Regions from separate parts of the Homo sapiens genome. Here region 1 is linked to region 2. The links are contacts of gene promoters, found by promoter capture Hi-C in blood cells and fetal thymus (Javierre and others, 2016). All regions are on one chromosome and are shown on one strand. The core of a region is centred on a gene start or on the middle of the fragment in contact, and the rest is flanking DNA. Distances in the headings are between cores, read along the strand shown.

Evidence for each region. Contacts are between HindIII fragments. The CHiCAGO score rates a contact against its expected background, and 5 or more counts as called.
Region 1: a contact is called between a fragment that was not itself captured here and the fragment with the promoter of SOX14 in region 2, in 1 of 17 cell types (fetal thymus). The highest score is 6.7, in fetal thymus.

The regions. Positions count from the first base shown.
Region 1 is chr3:137,133,442-137,138,965 of GRCh38, forward strand. No RefSeq gene overlaps it. Among named protein-coding and RNA genes, the nearest start is that of IL20RB-AS1, 150 kb to the left of the region's middle. The HindIII fragment of the contact is 2,548 bases long and covers 23-2,570 here.
Region 2 is chr3:137,761,081-137,766,125 of GRCh38, forward strand. It overlaps SOX14 (SRY-box transcription factor 14), which reads left to right and starts at 3,235. Exons shown (of 1, transcript NM_004189.4): 1 at 3,235-5,045. The coding sequence starts at 3,705. The coding sequence ends at 4,427. RefSeq lists promoters at 2,330-3,661, 2,984-3,661, enhancers at 2,459-3,264, 3,265-4,070 and a cis regulatory region at 3,119-3,125. The HindIII fragment of the contact is 2,891 bases long and covers 953-3,843 here.

The sequences.
Region 1 (5,524 bases), core at 47-2,546, 630 kb before region 2:
GCAACTCTTCCATAAATTTGAAAGCTTTTGAAATAAAATGTTTTGGGGGAAATACCCTCACAAATTTTCAAAATTGCCATGAGGGCCATACCACAAGTGGTGGCATAAGTAACAGATCCAGAGGGCAGGAGGTTGATTTGGGAAAGGGGCAAGAGGATTAGAAATGGAGTGAGGTTTCTTCCTCATGCCCTACCTTGGGCTGGGTACCAGGATGGATACCTAGAAACTCCTTTAAATTTGGGTTTCTGAGAGTAGTAATGACTTGTAACCTACTTACCCTCTGGAATGTAAGAAGTAGCAGTCTTGCTAATATTCCCCAGGGCCACAAAAGCATGGGAGAAGTAGATTGTCACAAGCTGCAGAATGTTGATGGAGAGCATCAGAAAGCCCCCACATCCCCAGGAGACATGCACAAATGGCTGATAAAGGGTGAGGAGCTTAGGTCAGCAGATACTACCAGAGAGCTGAGGGTGGCTATGGCTCAGAGGCTCCCTTAGTGCCTGCTCTCATGTCCTGGACTGGGGTGCTGTTTTTGGAACTTAGCTGTTCCCCTTGCTGAAAACGCAAGTATGGAGCAGGGGTGGAGTGCAGGACAAAAGACACACAAAATTTGACTGAGTTAAACTTAAAATGTCTGAGTAATCACTAGTGTGATTGAATTTACCTGAAAGTGTTTTCTGCTGTCAAATGGAAATGAGAATTCAAGGTAGAAATTGAGTAGAGTTACAGAAAATTAAGCTCCATTTCTTTTGGTAAATGTGATTTTGTGGCTTGTGAAAATTTGAGTCTGCTAAAGTAGTTAGATCAGATGTGTTCATGGAATACAGTATTCAGTATAGCTGAATATATAGAATGTATCAGAAAGATGACAAGAAACTGGACAGACGATTGTGCAAACAGAAATACCATTTTGATAGTGGATGGGAGCTGCTAGGGGAGAAGTTGTATCTGAAATTATGAGTATAGAAAAGCTCCAGAAGTCCTGGGGGGACCTTTTTCCCAGTTCTCTAATCCAGAAGAGATGAGGAAGACAATGTATTCACTTAGTTCAAAAAATATCATTTTAAAAACTGTTTGTATTCCTAAATGAGGCCCTTAGAGAATGCATGGGTCCCCTGTGAAATAAAACCCTTGTGACTTCAGCCCGGCTCCCTTTGTTTAATCAGAGGATGCCATAGTCACAGGCAGGGGCAGATGGCTGAGATCCTATCGCAGCAGCCTCAGGACTTAGGAACCTTAATTTTAAAGGGGGATTAAAGCACAAAAAAACGTTGTTAAAACATCATGCATTTTCATAAGCACCTAGACATGCTCGCTCCCTGCTAGATGTTTATGTGACAGGTCTTTGGAACATAAACTGTGATGGAAGCAAGGGAGCTTTTATGTTGACTCTGTATGGGGGAAAATCAGTATTTGTCTTGCTAAAAGTGCTAGGAGGGGTTCCTCCCTTGTCTCCTTTGTGGTTTCTTGGCTCATGGAATGGAGGAAAAGTCTGGTATCATTCCAGCTTGGTGGATAATGGTGACTGGGAATTGAAGCCTCTCCTAAGACACTGCAGCATACATGAGGGAGCCCTCAGCATGTAGGAGCAGTGAGGCAGTCCATGCCTTCTAAACCAGAACTCTAAAGTTTTATTTCAGTGCATTTTAGACATCAAGCCATTCTGGTGTTATGGTCTTCAGACTGGTGAATGCATCCCCACTGGTGAACCCACAGACTTCCCAGGAGGCGTGAGGGCACACAGATGGTTTAGATCCCCAGATTCCACATGTCTTCTTTCCTAATATTTATCCACCTGGGGACATGCCTGAGGTCTGCAGATTCTTCTTTGCCATCTGCCTTCATACTCTCCCATTAGAAAACAGAGGCATAGACTGGGCGTGGTGGCTCATGCCTGTAATCCCAGCACTTTGGGAGGTTGAGGTGGGCGGATCATCTGAGGTCAGGAGTTTGAGGCCAGCCTGGCCAACATGGTGAAACCCCGTCTCTACTAAAAATACAAAAAATAGCCTGGGTGGTGGTGGGCATCTGTAATCCCAGCTACTTGGGAGGCTGAGGCAGGAGAATCACTTGAACCCAGGAGGCAGAGGTTGCAGTGAGCTGAGATCATGCCATTGCACTCCAGCCTTGGGTGACCAGAGCAACACTCCATCCACCCCCTGCATCAAAAAAACAAAAACCACAAAACAAAACAAAAACAAAAAAACAAAACAAAACCCAAAAAACAGACACACATTTCTCTCCTGACCATGGTGCTTTGCCTTGGGATAGATAAATCCCTAGGGGCAACAAACAAAAGGTGCCATGTTGGAAAATGATTGGGTCACAATTGTTCTCTCTACTCAGTTGGTTTCTGACCCTGCTTTCATCAAAATGGACATGTGTCCCTTGTCCCTGCTCTGCATCCCTGCTCTTTTTACCCAGGGTAGCATTACAGGCATAATTATTATTTCTATCAGAGCTTTAATTATGCATGGATTCAGGATGTGTCTTCTAGTCAATGGGATCTTACAATTCCTTCAGTTGAGTCTCAGTCACAAAGTAGTTTTATTGCATGGCAATTTTAAGAAAGCTTCAACATTAAACTTGTAGAATGGTGTCTGAGGCTTGGAAGAAAATCCCAGAGGCAATAGTGGAGCACTCCCAGGAAATGTCTGTTCATCAATGTTCGTGATGGTATATTGGGTAGAAAACCATGATCATTAATGCCTCAGTTGAAAAGCAATTCAGAAGAGCTGGACTTAGAATATGAAGATGTTTTAGAAATACCATACCAACTTATTTCACTTATATTCCTATTTTTACGAATGTACAAGAATGACATATAACTAGAATCTGTGTCGGAGCGTCCTTGCTGGGCTTCTGGTGGTCACAGCTCTGCTGTTTGCTCCTAGATTCTGTATTTCAAGGTGGGGAAGAAGTGACTGCAGGTACTAGTGATGGAAAAAGAAGGCCGTGGACAAGTTCTGGAACATTAAACAACAAGACTTCTTTAAAAGGGAAAGGAAAGGCTGTGGTGAAGTAAAAATGATGAAGAGGTGTTTTTAGCAAAAACTGGTGACCCTGCTGATTATTTCAAAGTCAGTTATTTTGAACTATTTAAGGTATTAACCTTCTTGCAGACGTGGTGCCCTCACCTACAGAGGCTGAAAGTGTCCAAAGTGAATTACGCAGAAGGCCATTTAGGCTGAGCCTCTTGGCATTCTGAATTGGATGCCATTTTTAAGTTTTATTTTCTCATGGTTGCTGTGTGTGTGTTTATGTTTGCAAAAGCAGTTTAGGCCCTGGAATTGCAAGCTGTTCTGTTAAGGCCCAGGCCGCTTTGCTATCTCCTACCTTTGTTCCTCACTTCATTTTGGAGGATTGTTACACATTTGTAAGTACAATGGGATTATTTATTCATTGTGTCCGTCCACTCTTTTCTGTGCCACAAAAGGAGAAATAGCCTGCACTGCGACTTAAGAGCTTTCTGACCGCTCCAAAGTCATGACATTTCCTTTGCTTTTTGATGGCTGGCTTTGAAAAGCAAGGGGAAGCTGGGTGACAAACTCTGTTGGCTCCAAGAGGGAGATGACTTGTCGTTGTTGTGAAAAAACGTATTTAGTCACTTTTAAAAAGCAAATTGTGGACTTAATAGAGCCACACGGTCTTCTTTGGAGATTGCTACAAGGTGGATTGTCTTGATAAAACATTTGAAGTCAGAAATACATCAAGCGTCAGTGAATATAAGCACTGACCTGAACTCAAGCACACAACATTCTCACCAAGCTTTAGAGTTTTTTTTTTTTTAAATAGAGAGAGGATAACTGTCCAGTACTTTTCACTGTGCTTTCTTCGCAATTCTTCTTCCAGTTCCAAATCAAATGAAAGAGTTGGATGATGAACTATTTTGAGTCTATCTGAGACCGTATGCGTTGGTATCTGTAGGCTCAGCTTTTTGGGTTTCTGCAGAAGCTGTGAATGTGCGCTTGAAGCCAAGCATTTAGCAGGCCCTTTCAAGGCCAAGGGCAAATCTCTACATTAAACAGAACCAACGCCTTCTCAGCATCACCCACTCCCAAGCCCCTTCATGATTGTTATGTTTACTATCACTTTTTAGGTAATATTGACAGAGCAACCCCAAGTCATGTTGATTTCCTCCTGGACACTTAACTGTCTTTGAGGTAGCTGCCACCAGGTGAGAGTAGAGTCTTCAGTCATGGCTGCACTTTGCCAGATGTAGATGAGAATGAGTGAGAGAGAGTCAATTGTTGCTTACATTTTTTTTCTATTAAAGTAATAGCTATATTAAGTATTATTATGAGTAGTTAACTATGTTTTAATTACTAAGCCCTTTCTCAAACCTTTATTTTACAACCTCAGTATTCTGCTGTTGAAAGAAGGTAACACACCCTTCCTACTCCAGACTTTTGATAAAGCGCAAATTCAATAGACTATGTTGAGAAGGCAACAAATTTAAGATTTAAAAAGGGATTTTATTAGAAAAAGAAAACATATACTTTGAGAATGGTTGTGTTCTGTTGTGAGCAGTGGATTGAACAAGATGAAGATAAGACTTAGGTTAGGAGGAAGGGCCAACTGGAGTGGGCCAGGACAAGATGGCCCTTTGGCCCAGGTCCTTGGAAAGGCTGTGGTTGCAGCATTTGTCTTTTTTTTTTTTTTTTTTTCTCCTTTCCTTCTTTCCTTTCTGGAAAAGAAAAATACAGAAAAATGGAAAGGGCAATGTAAGATCAATGCTTGGGTATTCACATCCTAGAATTAACTAATAAAGTCATTTTTGCTTTAGGTTTTAAAAAATCATTTAAAAGAAATAGAGGCGGGCATGGTGGTTCACGCCTGTAATCCTAGCACTTTGGGAGGCTGAGGCAGGTGGATTGCTTGAGCTCAGGACTTTGTGACCAGCCTGGGCAACCTGATGAAGCCCCATCTCTACAAAATTAGCCAGACGTGGTGGCACATGCCTGTAGTCCCAGCTACTCCGGAGGCTGAGTTGGGAGGATCGCCTAAGCCCAGGAGGTTGAGGCTGCAGCAATGAGCCGAGGTTGCACCACTGCATTCCAGCCTGGGGGACACAGTGACACCCTGTCTCAAAAAAAAAAAAGTAACTAAAATTGAAGTCTCCTTTATTTTCTCCTCCCCAGTACAGTTCATATTCCTCTTTCCCCAGGAAAGGGAACTTTAGGACCTTGGTTTATTTTCCTCCCCTCAAGGAAAGCCTACAGTACTGCTAATACCATTATTATTGTTGCTTAAATGCAAATGGTATCATTGTAGTATTTATGGTATTCTCATTGCTCTTTCACTCAACATTTTCTCTTCCAAGTCTCTCCGTGTTGAGATGTGTGTGTTGATTCATTTTAATTTCTGGATAGTATTTACTTTTATGAGTATATGTATAAAAATATCCTCTTGATATGTTGAAACACATCAGGTATTCTGTCAATGTCACCTTCTTAAAGTGTCCCCTGGGGACCTCTAAACTCCAGTCAGAACTGCTTGCCTTCTACACTGGCAACACATCTGT
Region 2 (5,045 bases), core at 1,985-4,484:
GGCTTGTACTGATACCTGAGGTACGCGCAGGAGCTGCGTGAAAGGAGAGGCCCAGAGCCAGAAAAGAGGAAGGCGCATCCTGGACGCTCTGCGCCCTGGAGGGAGACGAAAGGCCCGGAGAGAAGCAGATTAGGTCGGTGCCCTTAGAGGCCTCTTCCTTCACTTCCGGGAAACAGCGGCGGTTCCCTGACAAAATCCCTGTTGCTCGGGGGTTCGGACGCCTTGCTAAGGCTGGCACGCAGCGGACCTTGAGTAGCTGCGCTGTGTACTGAACGTGTGCACAGCTTCTCCAGGCAAATGTGCAAGCGGAAAGACCTCATCCAAGCGTTATCTCCAGCCCTGGAGGAGAATGAACTGGTAGCCTGGGGCCAAACTTCAGGCCGTGGACAAAGCAGGAGGAGTATTTAGGCAACCTCTGTCCTAATGCTTGTTCTGGTTGTGACCGAAGTTGCTGACTCTCCTCAGGGGTCACGTCTCCAGGACGTGCTACCCGGTGGTTTAGACCCGTCAGGGAGGCACAGCGTGAAGGGACAGCGCAGCGCAGTAGAGGCACCTGCTGGAGACAGCACCAGGCCAGACCCCAGGATCACGGGAACTCCTGCTCCCGCCACAGCTCTAAAGAGTGTTGAATAAACCGGTGGTCACCGGTACTGCGTAAGGGGTGTGCGTGGCTTTGCAGTTCGCCTAGGAGACAAGCTGATGCACGGCCTGGAAGGTGCAGCCCTCATCCCTGCGTTCCCTCCCCGCGCGGAGTTCCTGTCTCAAGGCCAAGACGCGCAGCGCTGATGCTGGCCCCTTCCTAGGTCAGTGCAGCTGGACCAGGCAATCGGGGTCTCCGAAACGTCGGGGGGTCAGCTGGCGCCCTGCCCACCATCGAACGCCCTTCGTATCACTCCGCTCCTCATTGCGAATTGGACTGCGCATTGGCTGCGACCCAAGGCTGAACACAAGAAGCTTGGAGAGGAGCTCGGGCGTTTGAGGAGAAGGAAATATGAGGAATTGCAGGAAGGCGCTCGCCTGCCCGAACTGCCTCCGGGCAACTGGAAAGGATTGTCCTGGAAACTGAGAGGAGAGAAAGGACGTAGGACCTTGTGCCAGATCCCCTTGCTGAGTAATTTCCAAGAGCTTGGTTTGCATTAACCCAGAACTTTGGGTGTGCGTTTGGTGTCCCCTGGGGGGTTCTAGAGTGAGAGATTGGCGGGTCCCCTCCGAACGCTGGATCTCGCTGCAGATATCAGTATTTCTCTCATTCCTTCCCAAAGCCGTCGGGATCGCCCAGTAGAATTAGAATTGGGTGATTCCTGAATCTCCTATCCCTGGCTGGCTCTGAATATAGCGCACCGCTGGTCAGACCTGAGTAGGGGTTGCCAGCGACGCTCGGAAACCCTTTCCAGACTGGGCTGAAAAGTGCGTTTGCTTCCTGAGACCCTAAGCTAAATGAAACTTCCTGCAGAGAAAGCAGGGTTACAGGGCTGGATGGAGGCTCTGGAGAAAGGCCAGAGCTGGGGTTGGGAAGGAATGTAAAGGCTGTGCACCTGTTTGCCAGCCCTCGGAGGTGGAGCCCATGGCTAAGCAAATCAAGCGCAGGATCAGTCTTTCCAGCGTGGTTTATCTGCATGGCAGGTGTCGATTGCCCCAATAGTCTCATCAGGTGTTCCACATTGGGCTGCAGAGCCATGAAATCCCTAGGCGTGACGTCTAGTGGAATGGGGGTGAAAATAGGGATTTTCAAATCCTATACATCAAGCATCACTCCCAGAGTCACTTTTGACAAATCACCTAGTTTTTCTCAACCTTAGTTTCCTAATCTGTAAAATGGGGATATTGCCCACCTCTCTGAAAAGTGCGCCAAGGGTGAGAAGTTCCACGCGTCTTTCTAATTTTAGGAAGGGGAAGCAAAGTCTTCTCCTCAAACTTGATACACTACATGCTAGAGAAAGATCCTCCCTTCCGGCCTCCTCATTCCCTGTCACCCTCCCCCACTCCTAGCCCCTCGGAGCCAACGGAGCCTTGCGCGTTTCTGGCCGGTCCTCCCAAGAGAGAATGGTGCAAAAGCCAATAAGCCTGGAACACACGCAGGTCCCGCCGGGCCTGGGACAATGGTTTCCATTTAATAAATATTTCCCCCAAGGGCATTTCACATCGGGCAGGCAATTATTCAAAGGAAACAGGCGCGCAGGTTGGCTCTGCGGGTTATTTCGTCCTCTTTACCCGAAGAATGCTCATTTGACGCAAGAAACGAGTCTCGCAGCCTCCCTGGGTGGGAAGAGGCGCCCAGGGACAAACCGACCCTGGTTGCGATACACCGTGAGACTCCGCTGTAGGGCCGCTGCAGAAGGGGCACCGGGAAGAGCCCCATACCCAGCCTCTAGGCTCTTCTTACGGTATGAACATTTGTGGAGTAAAAGTTGGAGGTTTAAAGACACTAAATAATAATAACATAAATGGGAACTGCAATAGAAATCTCAGCCCCATCCCTGCCCCAAAAGTGAAGAACAGGTCGTAGTGCTTTTAAGGGCTCACCAACTAGGGTTCGAAATCTCTGCATTGCCTGACGCGAGGCCTTCCAGGAGCAGGTCAGACAACATTGCTCAGCCACCCAGGGTCCCAGCGCTACGCCCGGGCGCCGCATCCTGGGGCAGGGGTGGATGCCTAGTTGCAGGGGCTTCCCGGGAGAACACTGCCAAAGCACCGCCGAGGGTGGGGCGCGAAAAGTTTATTTCGCTTTTACCCTGAGCCTGCTATATGTTATTTTTCTCTTCCAAGGATATTTGACAAGAGGGCAAAGTGCTGTCCTTGCATTTCGCGGCAAAGCTGTCCTATTTATCAACACAAGCTCTCGCCTCGCTCCCTTTGCTGTCCCTTCCCCGGCCTTTGTATTTCAAGCCCTAATTCTCTTTCACAACCGGGAAAGGAAACAGGAGACGCGGAAGAGTTTTATTTGTTGACAGTGCCCGAGACAATGTGGAACCGAAGTCCCCAGTCTAGAGCTAGCCTCTCTGCTCTAGCCCTCTCTCTGCCTCTGTCCCTCACACCTCTCCCCGCCCCCACCAGTCGCGCTCTCTGTTTCTTGCACCGGCGTGTTGGCAGGTGCGCCCCCTCGGCTTCTCTGCTGCTGATTGGCGCCCAGGTTGGGGAGTCGCCGCCCCGCGCTTATGTCAGAGTGCGTGCAGTCCCGGCCCACCTCGCCTTTGAACTTCGCCGCTTTTGGCTCTCGTTCACCAGCCTCCCCGCATTCTCAGCCAGGTGCAGCGCTAGGCGCGGCAGCTCCGGGAAAGCCACGGGAAGGGGGAGCCACGACTGGAAACGCAAGAGGAGAGAAGGGAACTAGAGAAGGCAAAGGTGGAGAGGGGGAGAAGGAGGAGCTTCTTGCCCTGGCTAAAAAATTACCTGGCCACTTAATCCCGGAGACTCCGATACTTGGGTCCCAGCCCCTGGTGCCTGAAGCCCCCCGGCCGATCGCCCTCTCCTCCCCCGCCCTTTCTGCCCCCACTCGCTCCCCCGGGGCTGCCTGGGCGCTGGGACTGGCATGATCAGCTGAACTTTGTGGGGTCAGCGCTTCTCTCTGGCTTCCCCTCAGCGGCGCCAAGGCGAGGGGAGCGCAGAACCCCGGCTCAGGACGGACAGACAGACGGCCAGCCGCGCCCAGGCTCGTCTGCAGAACCCTTGCACTCCCTACCCCCACCCACCTAGCCGCCGGGACCATGTCCAAACCTTCAGACCACATCAAGCGGCCCATGAACGCCTTCATGGTATGGTCCCGGGGCCAGCGGCGCAAGATGGCCCAGGAAAACCCCAAGATGCACAACTCGGAGATCAGCAAACGCCTAGGTGCCGAATGGAAGCTTCTGTCCGAGGCAGAGAAGCGGCCATACATCGATGAAGCCAAGCGGCTACGCGCCCAGCACATGAAGGAGCACCCTGACTACAAGTACCGACCTCGGCGCAAGCCCAAGAACCTGCTCAAGAAGGACAGGTATGTCTTCCCCTTGCCCTACCTGGGCGACACGGACCCGCTCAAGGCGGCTGGCCTGCCCGTGGGGGCCTCCGACGGCCTCCTGAGCGCGCCCGAGAAAGCCCGGGCCTTCTTGCCGCCGGCCTCGGCGCCCTACTCCCTGCTGGACCCCGCGCAGTTTAGCTCGAGCGCCATCCAGAAGATGGGCGAAGTGCCCCACACCTTGGCTACCGGCGCTCTGCCCTACGCGTCCACCCTGGGCTACCAGAACGGCGCCTTCGGCAGCCTCAGCTGCCCCAGCCAGCACACGCACACGCACCCGTCCCCCACCAACCCTGGCTACGTGGTGCCCTGTAACTGTACCGCCTGGTCTGCCTCCACCCTGCAGCCCCCCGTCGCCTACATCCTCTTCCCAGGCATGACCAAGACTGGCATAGACCCTTATTCGTCAGCCCACGCTACGGCCATGTAACCCCCAGCCCGGCCCGGACCTGAGGCGTGGTCTGAAAGCCGGGTCTGCACCCTGTCCTCTGAGCCTAGCCCCGGCCTGCAGACGCCTCCGGGGTCAGCCCTGCCGCTGTCCCTTACACCACCCAGACTTTTCCTCTCTCTTCCAGGGGGAAGGGTGGGGCGTCCTCCCGGACCCAAGGCGCAGACAGGTACCGGAAACTTGCAAACGTTATGTCAGCTACACAGCTGCCCCTATCCCGACTCTCCCAAAACAAATCTCCGACTGTACCCCCTTTGGACAAAAAAGTAGGCAGTTTTGCTTTATTTATATCCCCTTCACTCTCCTCGGATAGGCTTTGGACTCTGAACTCCCAGATTCTGATATTATATCTACAATATGCATATATTTTTTCCTTTTGTCCCCTGAAGAAAAGAGTTAGCTGTGTCTCTGTGTTTTGCCATCAGACACAACTAGGAGCCATTTGCTCTTCATGTATGGGGGGGAAAGGCTTCAAAGTTTTAAATTACAGAAAGGGAAACATTTCTATTTAAAACCATGCTATGATAGTGTTTGCTTCTTTAAAGGGAAAACAAAAAGGACCTACATGGTTATTTACTTTGTGTAAAGCAGTGCTTCTAG